Regions from separate parts of the Homo sapiens genome. Here all the other regions are linked to region 1. The links are contacts of gene promoters, found by promoter capture Hi-C in human tissues and cell types (Jung and others, 2019). All regions are on one chromosome and are shown on one strand. Each heading gives the region's core, a stretch centred on a gene start or on the middle of the fragment in contact. The rest is flanking DNA. Distances are from core to core; before and after follow the strand shown. Region 1 holds the start of PGLYRP1 (peptidoglycan recognition protein 1). Region 2 holds the start of RSPH6A (radial spoke head 6 homolog A). Region 3 overlaps IGFL2 (IGF like family member 2).

Region 1 (2,760 bases), core at 93-2,592:
CTGGTGAGATGCCCATGAAATATTAGGTGACAAAAGGTAAATTGATGCACATGGTTTTGATTTTTTTTTTTAATGTCCTTATATAAGTTTGTAGGGAGGAGAATACGGTTTATAACTCTGCAGGCAGAAAGCCTGTAGCCAAACCCTGGCTTCATCACCTCCTGTATGTGATCATCCCCCCGGGCCTCAGTTCCGTCAACTGTAAGAGGGGTTAATAATAACATGGATCTGGCAAGCTTGTCGTTGAGTATATGATAATTTCTGAAAAGTGCTACAGATGCCTGGTGCACAATTCAGTAACAGCATGAGTACAATGTATATGAGAAGGCAGAACACAGAAGATGAAAACACACCACACAGGTCAGGCACGGTGGCTCATGCCTATAGTAATCCCAGCACTCTGGAACACTGGCAGGTGGCTCACCTGAGGTCAGGAGTTCGACACCAGCCAGGCCAACATGGCAAAACCCCGTCTCTACCAAAAATATAAAAATTAGCTGGGCGTGGTGGTGTGCACTTGTAATCCCAGCTACTCAGGAGGCTGAGGCAGGAGAATCACTTGAAGCCAGGAGGCGGAGGTTGCAGTGGCCCAAGATCGCACCATTGCACTCCAGCCTGGGTGACAAGAGCAAAACTCCATCTCAAAAAAAAAAAAAAAAAAAAAGGAAAATATTATTTATAAAATAGAAAATTAAAAAAAAAATTTTAAATACACATTTTTAAAAACCACTTGCAGGCTCTCACACACTGCATATCCAGGATTCACATGCAGGCAGCCTGGCTCTAGACGCGGGGCTCCAGTGCCTCCGGTGTCTCAGCCCGTGACTTCCCTGCTCTCAACCTCAGTTTACTCCACTGTGAAATGGACTTCCAGATACTCACCTCTTGAGTTTGCTGCAAGCGTAAATGGCATCAGGCTTGGACCTGGGGGAAGGAAGTGTTTTTAAAATGGGTAGCTTTGTTACCTCAGTCCTTGCGGGGAGAAGATGTGCCAATGCCCCGGGCCTCTGCGATGTAAGTTCCTGTTGAGTTGTTCAATGTTCCACTGAGAGGAGAGACAAGCAGGACCGGGATCCCGGCCCCGGGTCTTCCAGAAACGGCGGGGCGAAGCGCCCAGGGGCCTGTGCGTCCCTCCCTGCTGAGCGAGGGGGCCTGTCATTGCCGTGGGCGTGACCCAGACCCCAACCACAGTGCATCCCGCCCTGGCCCAGCCAGAGAAGGAAGCTGAGTCTGGGGTCTGCTGGGCCAGCAGGAAGTCCCAGCAGGGTGTGAAGCAAGACTTTCCGGGCCACTCCTGGAATCCCCCAGCAGATAAAGGCGGCCCCTCCACCGGGCGCTCCTAGCGGTCTCCCGGACCCTGCCGCCCTGCCACTATGTCCCGCCGCTCTATGCTGCTTGCCTGGGCTCTCCCCAGCCTCCTTCGACTCGGAGCGGCTCAGGAGACAGAAGACCCGGCCTGCTGCAGCCCCATAGTGCCCCGGAACGAGTGGAAGGCCCTGGCATCAGAGTGCGCCCAGCACCTGAGCCTGCCCTTACGCTATGTGGTGGTATCGCACACGGCGGGCAGCAGCTGCAACACCCCCGCCTCGTGCCAGCAGCAGGCCCGGAATGTGCAGCACTACCACATGAAGACACTGGGCTGGTGCGACGTGGGCTACAAGTGAGTGTGGCAGGGGGGCACGGGCTGGACTGGGGATCCCAGAGGCAAAGGTGTGCAAGTGCCCGCCAGCGGGACCATTTCTAGGCCTGGTGCTGAGGCCACCTGGCTGACACCCTGAGCAGCTTACTGAACCTCACAAGGTCATTTCTTCCTCGGGTCACCACGTGGGCCGGGGCAGGTGCTCACAGCACAAAGATGCGTGAGAAGGGGGGATGGGCTGAAATCCAAGCCCCGCTCCCGCTCCCGGGAAGAAGGGGCAGGCTTTGCCTAACACACACCAAGGTGTCCGCGACGCCTTATGAAGGCGCCCCTTCCTGATGCCTGGTGCCTTTGTTAGGAGGCGGAAAACCAGGCTGACTCAGTGCGGAGCTGGGTTCCAGGGTCAGCTCATCTTATTGCTGGCTGAGGCCTGGGGCGGGTCCTCCCGGCTTCAGCTTCCTCCTCGGCAAAGTCAATGGAATCGCGGCCCATCTGCTCCTTATATGAGCCAATACAGGCAAAGCACCTAGGAACTGCCTGGCACACGGGGGCCCGCAAAGCCACGGGCTATTACCATTAGGCACCTACTATGTGCCAGGCAGTGTGCCAGATGTGGCATGGAGAACGGTGCCACTCTAGCCTCCTGGGGTTGAAAGACCAGCAGGGAGAAACAAGCCAAGGCCACAGGTGAATTCAGACGGTGATAGAGGCGATGGATAAAAGGAAAGAGGTGAGGGAGGGTGACCTCAGGCTGGGACCAGACCCACACAGGCTCCTTGGAAGGGTGGGGCAAGGGAAAGCCTCCCTGAGAGTGGCTGCCTTGGCTCTGGGATGGGGGAGCAGACAGAGGCCTGCAGGTGGCAGGGGGTGCTGGGGGCAAAGCCAACGGGGTTGAGTGGGCGGGTCCTGTGGGAAGGACAGGGTGGCTGAACACAGCCGGGCGAGCGGAATGAAATGAGGAAAGGGCAGGACCAGGCAGGGCTTTGTGGACCACAGTGAGGACTGTAGCTTTTACTCCGAGATGGGAGCCATGGGAGGCTTCCCCCCGCAGAGCAGGGACCAGGGCTAGTGTAGGTACAAGAGACTCCCTCTGGCTGCTGTGGGGAGAACAGACTGTAAGG
Region 2 (2,760 bases), core at 177-2,676, 210 kb after region 1:
GGTCCCTCTGGTTGGTGGGGACTGGATGGAGGCGGACACAAGAAGGCCCTGCACTGCTGGGAGTTCTGGAGGGTTAGGGCCCCCGGACCTGAGGTGTGCAAATGGGGTCTCTGTGCCAGAGCTGCCCCCAGCGCCCCCTTCCTGCTCTCCACCCAGCAAGCTCACATCCCTAACTCCATCATGACCATCTTGGAGGCCAGCGGCAAGCAGGAGCCAGAGGCCAAGGAGGCGCCTGCGGGGCCCTTGGAGGAGGTGAGGGCCCTGCAGCCCACCCATCTGGATCCCCAGACTCCCACCCCCTACCCCAAGCCAGCAAGGCTCACCATGGCCTCCTCCTGACCCCGAGAGACTCAGGCCACCCCTGCCTCTGGGCCACCCGTCTCCCAGGGGATGCTCCTGCTGGGAGTTGGGGGTCTGGGGGACAACTGCCCCTTCCTCCCCATGCTCTTGGTGAAGAACTCAAAGACCACCTCAGGGTGGTTCCTTCTCTTTCCGGCCGTCCTCTGAGCCACCCACCTCTGAGCTTCTGTGTGGCCCTCCCTATCCCCAGGATGATCTGGAGCCCCTGACCTTGGCCCCGGCCCCAGCACCCCGGCCCCCTCAGGACCTCATCGGCCTGCGACTGGCCCAGGAGAAGGCCTTAAAGCGGCAGCTGGAGGAGGAACAGAAGCTGAAGCCGGGAGGAGTGGGAGCCCCCTCCTCTTCCTCCCCCTCTCCCTCTCCGTCGGCCCGGCCAGGCCCGCCCCCGTCTGAGGAAGCCATGGATTTCCGGGAGGAGGGGCCTGAGTGCGAGACCCCGGGCATCTTCATCAGCATGGATGACGACTCGGGGCTGACCGAGGCCGCGCTGTTGGACTCTAGTCTCGAGGGCCCCCTACCCAAGGTAGGGAGAGCAGCCTCCGCTGCGAAGGAAGAAGCCGGATCTGGGCCGGGGTGAAGGTGGGGGAGGAGGGGCCATCAGGGGGCAGGGCCTGAAGGGGAGCGTGGAGGTGACCGCGCCCTCCACCCGGCTGCCCTTTCCTTCCCCGGTCACCAGGAGACGGCAGCGGGCGGGCTGACCTTGAAGGAGGAGCGGAGCCCCCAGACCCTCGCACCTGTTGGAGAAGATGCTATGAAGACTCCCAGCCCGGCTGCCGAGGACGCCAGGGAACCCGAGGCCAAGGGGAACAGCTGACGGGGCTCGAGGGGGAAAGGGGGTGGGACAGGGACTCGGGGCTGGGGGACGGGGCGGGGCTTGACCTGCGGGTGCTTTGCCTTAAAAAGAAATAAAAGATGTGAACTTGGGCAAGTTACTGAAAAGAAAAAAAAAAAGGGATGGCGGGCCTGGGGCGCGGGTGCCGTCTCGAGTCTGGCGCGACGTCCACCGTGGGGCTGCGCGGGATCGGGAGTGCGCGCCCAGAGCCTGCGCGGAACCCACCCTGGCCCGCTCCCCGCGCCCTCCACGGGTAACGGCCCCCTCTCTCGGTGCTCAGAAACCGGCGGTGTCGACAGGTGGCTCTCGCTTGGCCTCCTTGTCTGCAAGCCTTTCTCCTAGAGATCTGTGCCTCCTGGCGAACCATGGGAGACCTGCCGCCCTACCCTGAGCGCCCTGCCCAGCAGCCTCCGGGCCGGAGGACTTCTCAGGCCTCCCAGAGGCGGCACAGTCGGGACCAAGCTCAGGCCCTGGCAGCGGACCCCGAGGAGAGGCAGCAGATACCTCCAGACGCCCAGCGAAACGCCCCTGGTTGGTCACAGAGGGGCAGCCTGTCCCAACAGGAGAACTTGCTGATGCCCCAGGTCTTCCAGGCTGAGGAAGCCCGGCTGGGTGGCATGGAGTACCCATCTGTGAACACGGGCTTTCCCTCAGAGTTCCAGCCTCAGCCTTACTCTGATGAAAGCAGGATGCAGGTCGCCGAGCTCACCACCAGCCTAATGCTGCAGCGGCTCCAGCAGGGCCAAAGCAGCCTGTTCCAGCAACTGGACCCCACCTTCCAGGAGCCCCCAGTCAACCCCTTGGGCCAGTTCAACCTCTACCAGACAGACCAGTTCTCTGAAGGTGCCCAGCACGGGCCTTACATAAGGGATGACCCTGCCCTTCAGTTCTTGCCCTCTGAGCTGGGCTTCCCACACTACAGTGCCCAGGTGCCTGAGCCCGAGCCTCTGGAGCTGGCCGTGCAGAACGCCAAGGCCTACCTGCTGCAGACCAGCATCAATTGCGACCTCAGCCTGTGAGCAGGGGCTAGGAGTGGGGCGGGTGGGGGACCCAGGCAGGGAGGGGCCCCACCCGAAGTGCCTGCCTCAGTCAGTCAGACAAGGGATCATCCCTCATGGAAAACCAGTGACTCTAATTCAGCTGAGTCGGAATCAATGCCAACAACAGCTAGCATTCACTTCCCAGACATGTGCTGGCACTGCACACACTCACCTAATTCTCACCGGAGATGAGCACATCAGCTCATCCTACTTTACAGAGGAGGAGACCGAGACACAGAGAAGTTGGGTCGCTTACCCAAAACTACACAGCTAGGATATGGCAGAGTCAGGATTCCAGAACACGTGATTTGGCTCCCCAAGCCCTCTTGCTTTTTTTTTCCCCCAGACATAGTCTCACCCTGTCACCCAGGCTGGAGCACAGTGGCGTGGTCTTGGCTTAGGGCAACCTCTCCTTCCCAAGTTCAAGTGATTCTTCTGCTTCAGCCTCCCGAGTAGTTGGGGTTACAGGCGCGCTCCACTTCACCCAGCTAATTTTTGTATTTTTAGTAGAGGCAAGATTTCACCATG
Region 3 (2,760 bases), core at 124-2,623, 130 kb before region 1:
CATTTTGTAATTTTCAGCATATAAGTCCTGTACATGTTTTGTTAGATTTACACCTAACTTTTTCATTTTTGAACAATTGCAGGTGCTATTTTGTTATTAATTTCAATGTCCACATGTTCATTATTGGTATAAAGAAACACGATTGATTTTTTCTATGTTGATCTTGCATTCTGAAACCTTGCTAAACTCACTTATTAGTTATAGGAGTACATTTTTAGATTCCTTGGGACTGTTTACATAGACAGTTGTGTGGCCTACAAATATAGGAACAGTTTTATTGCTTCCTTTCCAATCTGTATAAATTGTAATTCTTTTTTTCCTTGACTTATTGCCCTGGTTAGAATGTCCAGCAATACACTGAATAAGAATGGTGAAAGCAGACTTCCTCTCCTTTGCTCAGTCTTAGGTGGAAAGCATTCACTTTTTCACCATTACTTATTATATTAGTTGTAGGGTTTTTGTAGATGGACTTTATCGAGTTGAGGAAATTCCCCCTATTCCTGTTTTTCTGGGAGTTTTTAAAATCACGAATGGGTGTTAAATTTTATCAGATGCTTTTTCAGCATCAATTGATGTGATCATGTCATTTTTCTTCTTTAGCATGTTAATATGATGGATTACACTGAGAGTGATTTTTGAAATATTCTGCCAGGCTTACATTCTGGAATAAGCCCTACATAGGCATGATGTGTAAGTATTTTTTTATATTGCTGAATTTAATTTACAAATATTTTGTCAAGGATTTTTGCATGAAGGATATTGGTCTATAGTTTCATTGCTTTGTTGTTGTCATTGTTCTTGTTTGTCTTTTTATGATTTTAGTAGCAAAATAACTCTGATTTTATGAAATGAATTGAATTCCCTCCTATTCTATTCTCTGGATGAGATTGTGCAGAATTGGTGTCAATTTCTTTTTAAACATTTGTTAGATTCTCAGGTGCAACCATCTGGGCTTGGAGATTTCCTTTTTAGGAGATATTTTAAATTCTGAATTCTATTTCCTTAATAGTTATAAGGCTACTAAAATGATGTATTTCATATTGGGTGTGTTGTGATCATTTGTGCTTTTAAATGGGTGGTCCATTTCATCTAAGTTGTCAAATTGTGTAGAGTTATTCCTAGTTTTCCACTATTATTCTTTTAGTGTCTGCAAAACCTATATCTCCTGTCTCATTCCTGATACTGACAATTTGTGTCTTCTCTTTGAATTTTTGAGAGTTTTGCTAAAACTATCAAAAGATTATTGATCTTTTCAAAGAATTAACTCTTTATTTCATTGATTTTCTAGACTGTTTTTCTGTTTTCAATTTTATCGACTCCTGCTCTCCTCTTTATTATTTCCTTCCTTCTTGCTTTGGGTTTATTTTGCTCTTTTATTTTTTCCTAGCTTCTTGATGTGGGAGCTTAGATTATTGATTTTTCCTTTTTTCTAATACAACTATTTAGCACAATAAGTTTCACACTTAGCACTGCTTTATATATGTTCCATAAATTTTGATATATTGTATTTTCATTTCATTAAGTTAAATATAGTTTTAAAAATCTTTGAGACTCATCTTTAAACCATGAGTTATTTAGAGTTGTGTTGCTTAGCTGCCAAGTGCTTGGAGATCTTTCTGTAGTCATTAGCTTGATCAAATTATGGTCAGACAACTTACTCTGTTAAACTTCAATACTTTAGAACTTGTTGAGGTTTGTTTTACGGCTCTAGATAGAAGCCAATTCTCCATTACCATTTACAATGATATCAAAAATAACAAATACCTAGAATTAAATCTAAAGAAAGGTGAGAAACCTCTGCAAAACTCTGCTGAAAGATACTAAAGAACACCTAAGTAAATGGGAAACATACCAGGTTTATGCTTTGGAAGACTCAATATAACAAAGATGTCAGTGTTCCCCAAATTGATCGATAAATTCAATGCAAACTCAATAAATATTACAGCAAGGTTTTGTATAAGTTAACAAAGTGATTCTAAAATTTATCAGAAAGTGATGGTTGGGCACGGTGGCTCACACCTGTAATCCTAGCACTTTGGGAGGCTGAGGCAAGAGGATTGCTTGATCCCAGGAGTTCAAGACCAGCCTGGGCAACACAGTGACACCCTGACTCTATACATATTTTTTTTAAAAATTACCAGAAAATGAAAATGACAAGATAGCCAATACAATATTGAAGAAACTAAACAAAGTTATACGACTTACCCTAACAGATCAGGAAGTTTCATAAAACTATAATAATTTAGAGCGTGGTATTGCGAAAGATAAATAATTTTATCAATGGAATGAAACAGAGTTCAGATACAGATCCACACACAGACAATCAGTGATTTATCACAATTGTACCACTACAACTCACCAGGCAAAGATTAGTCCTTTTAATAGATATCTATATTGGGGGGGAATGTATCTTGACCCTTATCTCACACAAAATGTGAAAATTAATTTGAAATGGATCATAGACTTAAATGCAAAATATTTCAAACTATAAAGCAGGACTTCCAGAAGTCAGTGTGAAGAGCATGGGTGCCTTCCTCCCGGCAAAACAACCATTTAACTGATGAAAATTATTTTTTTTATAAAAACAACTAGTTAAGTCTCAGGAAATTGTCCTAAGGGCATACAGCAAATAAAGAAATGTTTATTCAAGAAATTCCACTCAATCTGTATAGAGCAGCGAGAGTCTGAGGGCATTTAAGCCACAAATTATCCCTATTCCCCACATCCCCAGCCAACTCTGTGTAATTGAAGCTCTATGCT

Evidence for each region. Contacts are between HindIII fragments. The study calls those that stand out against the background at their distance.
Region 2: the fragment with the promoter of RSPH6A here is called in contact with the fragment with the promoter of PGLYRP1 in region 1 in 1 of the 25 tissues and cell types used here (dorsolateral prefrontal cortex).
Region 3: a fragment that was not itself captured here is called in contact with the fragment with the promoter of PGLYRP1 in region 1 in 1 of the 25 tissues and cell types used here (bladder).

The regions. Positions count from the first base shown.
Region 1 is chr19:46,021,635-46,024,394 of GRCh38, reverse strand. PGLYRP1 (peptidoglycan recognition protein 1) reads left to right here and starts at 1,342. Exons shown (of 3, transcript NM_005091.3): 1 at 1,342-1,660. The coding sequence starts at 1,374. RefSeq lists an enhancer at 1,849-2,734. The HindIII fragment of the contact is 20,258 bases long and covers 1-2,760 here.
Region 2 is chr19:45,813,974-45,816,733 of GRCh38, reverse strand. RSPH6A (radial spoke head 6 homolog A) reads left to right here and starts at 1,426. Exons shown (of 6, transcript NM_030785.4): 1 at 1,426-2,207. The coding sequence starts at 1,558. It overlaps SYMPK (symplekin scaffold protein), which reads left to right. Exons shown (of 27, transcript NM_004819.3): 25 at 157-252; 26 at 551-883; 27 at 1,037-1,324. The coding sequence ends at 1,174. The HindIII fragment of the contact is 35,300 bases long and covers 1-2,760 here.
Region 3 is chr19:46,155,354-46,158,113 of GRCh38, reverse strand. All of the region lies in intron 1 of IGFL2 (IGF like family member 2), which reads right to left. Among named protein-coding and RNA genes, the nearest start is that of IGFL2, 8.5 kb to the right of the region's middle. The HindIII fragment of the contact is 4,857 bases long and covers 1-2,760 here.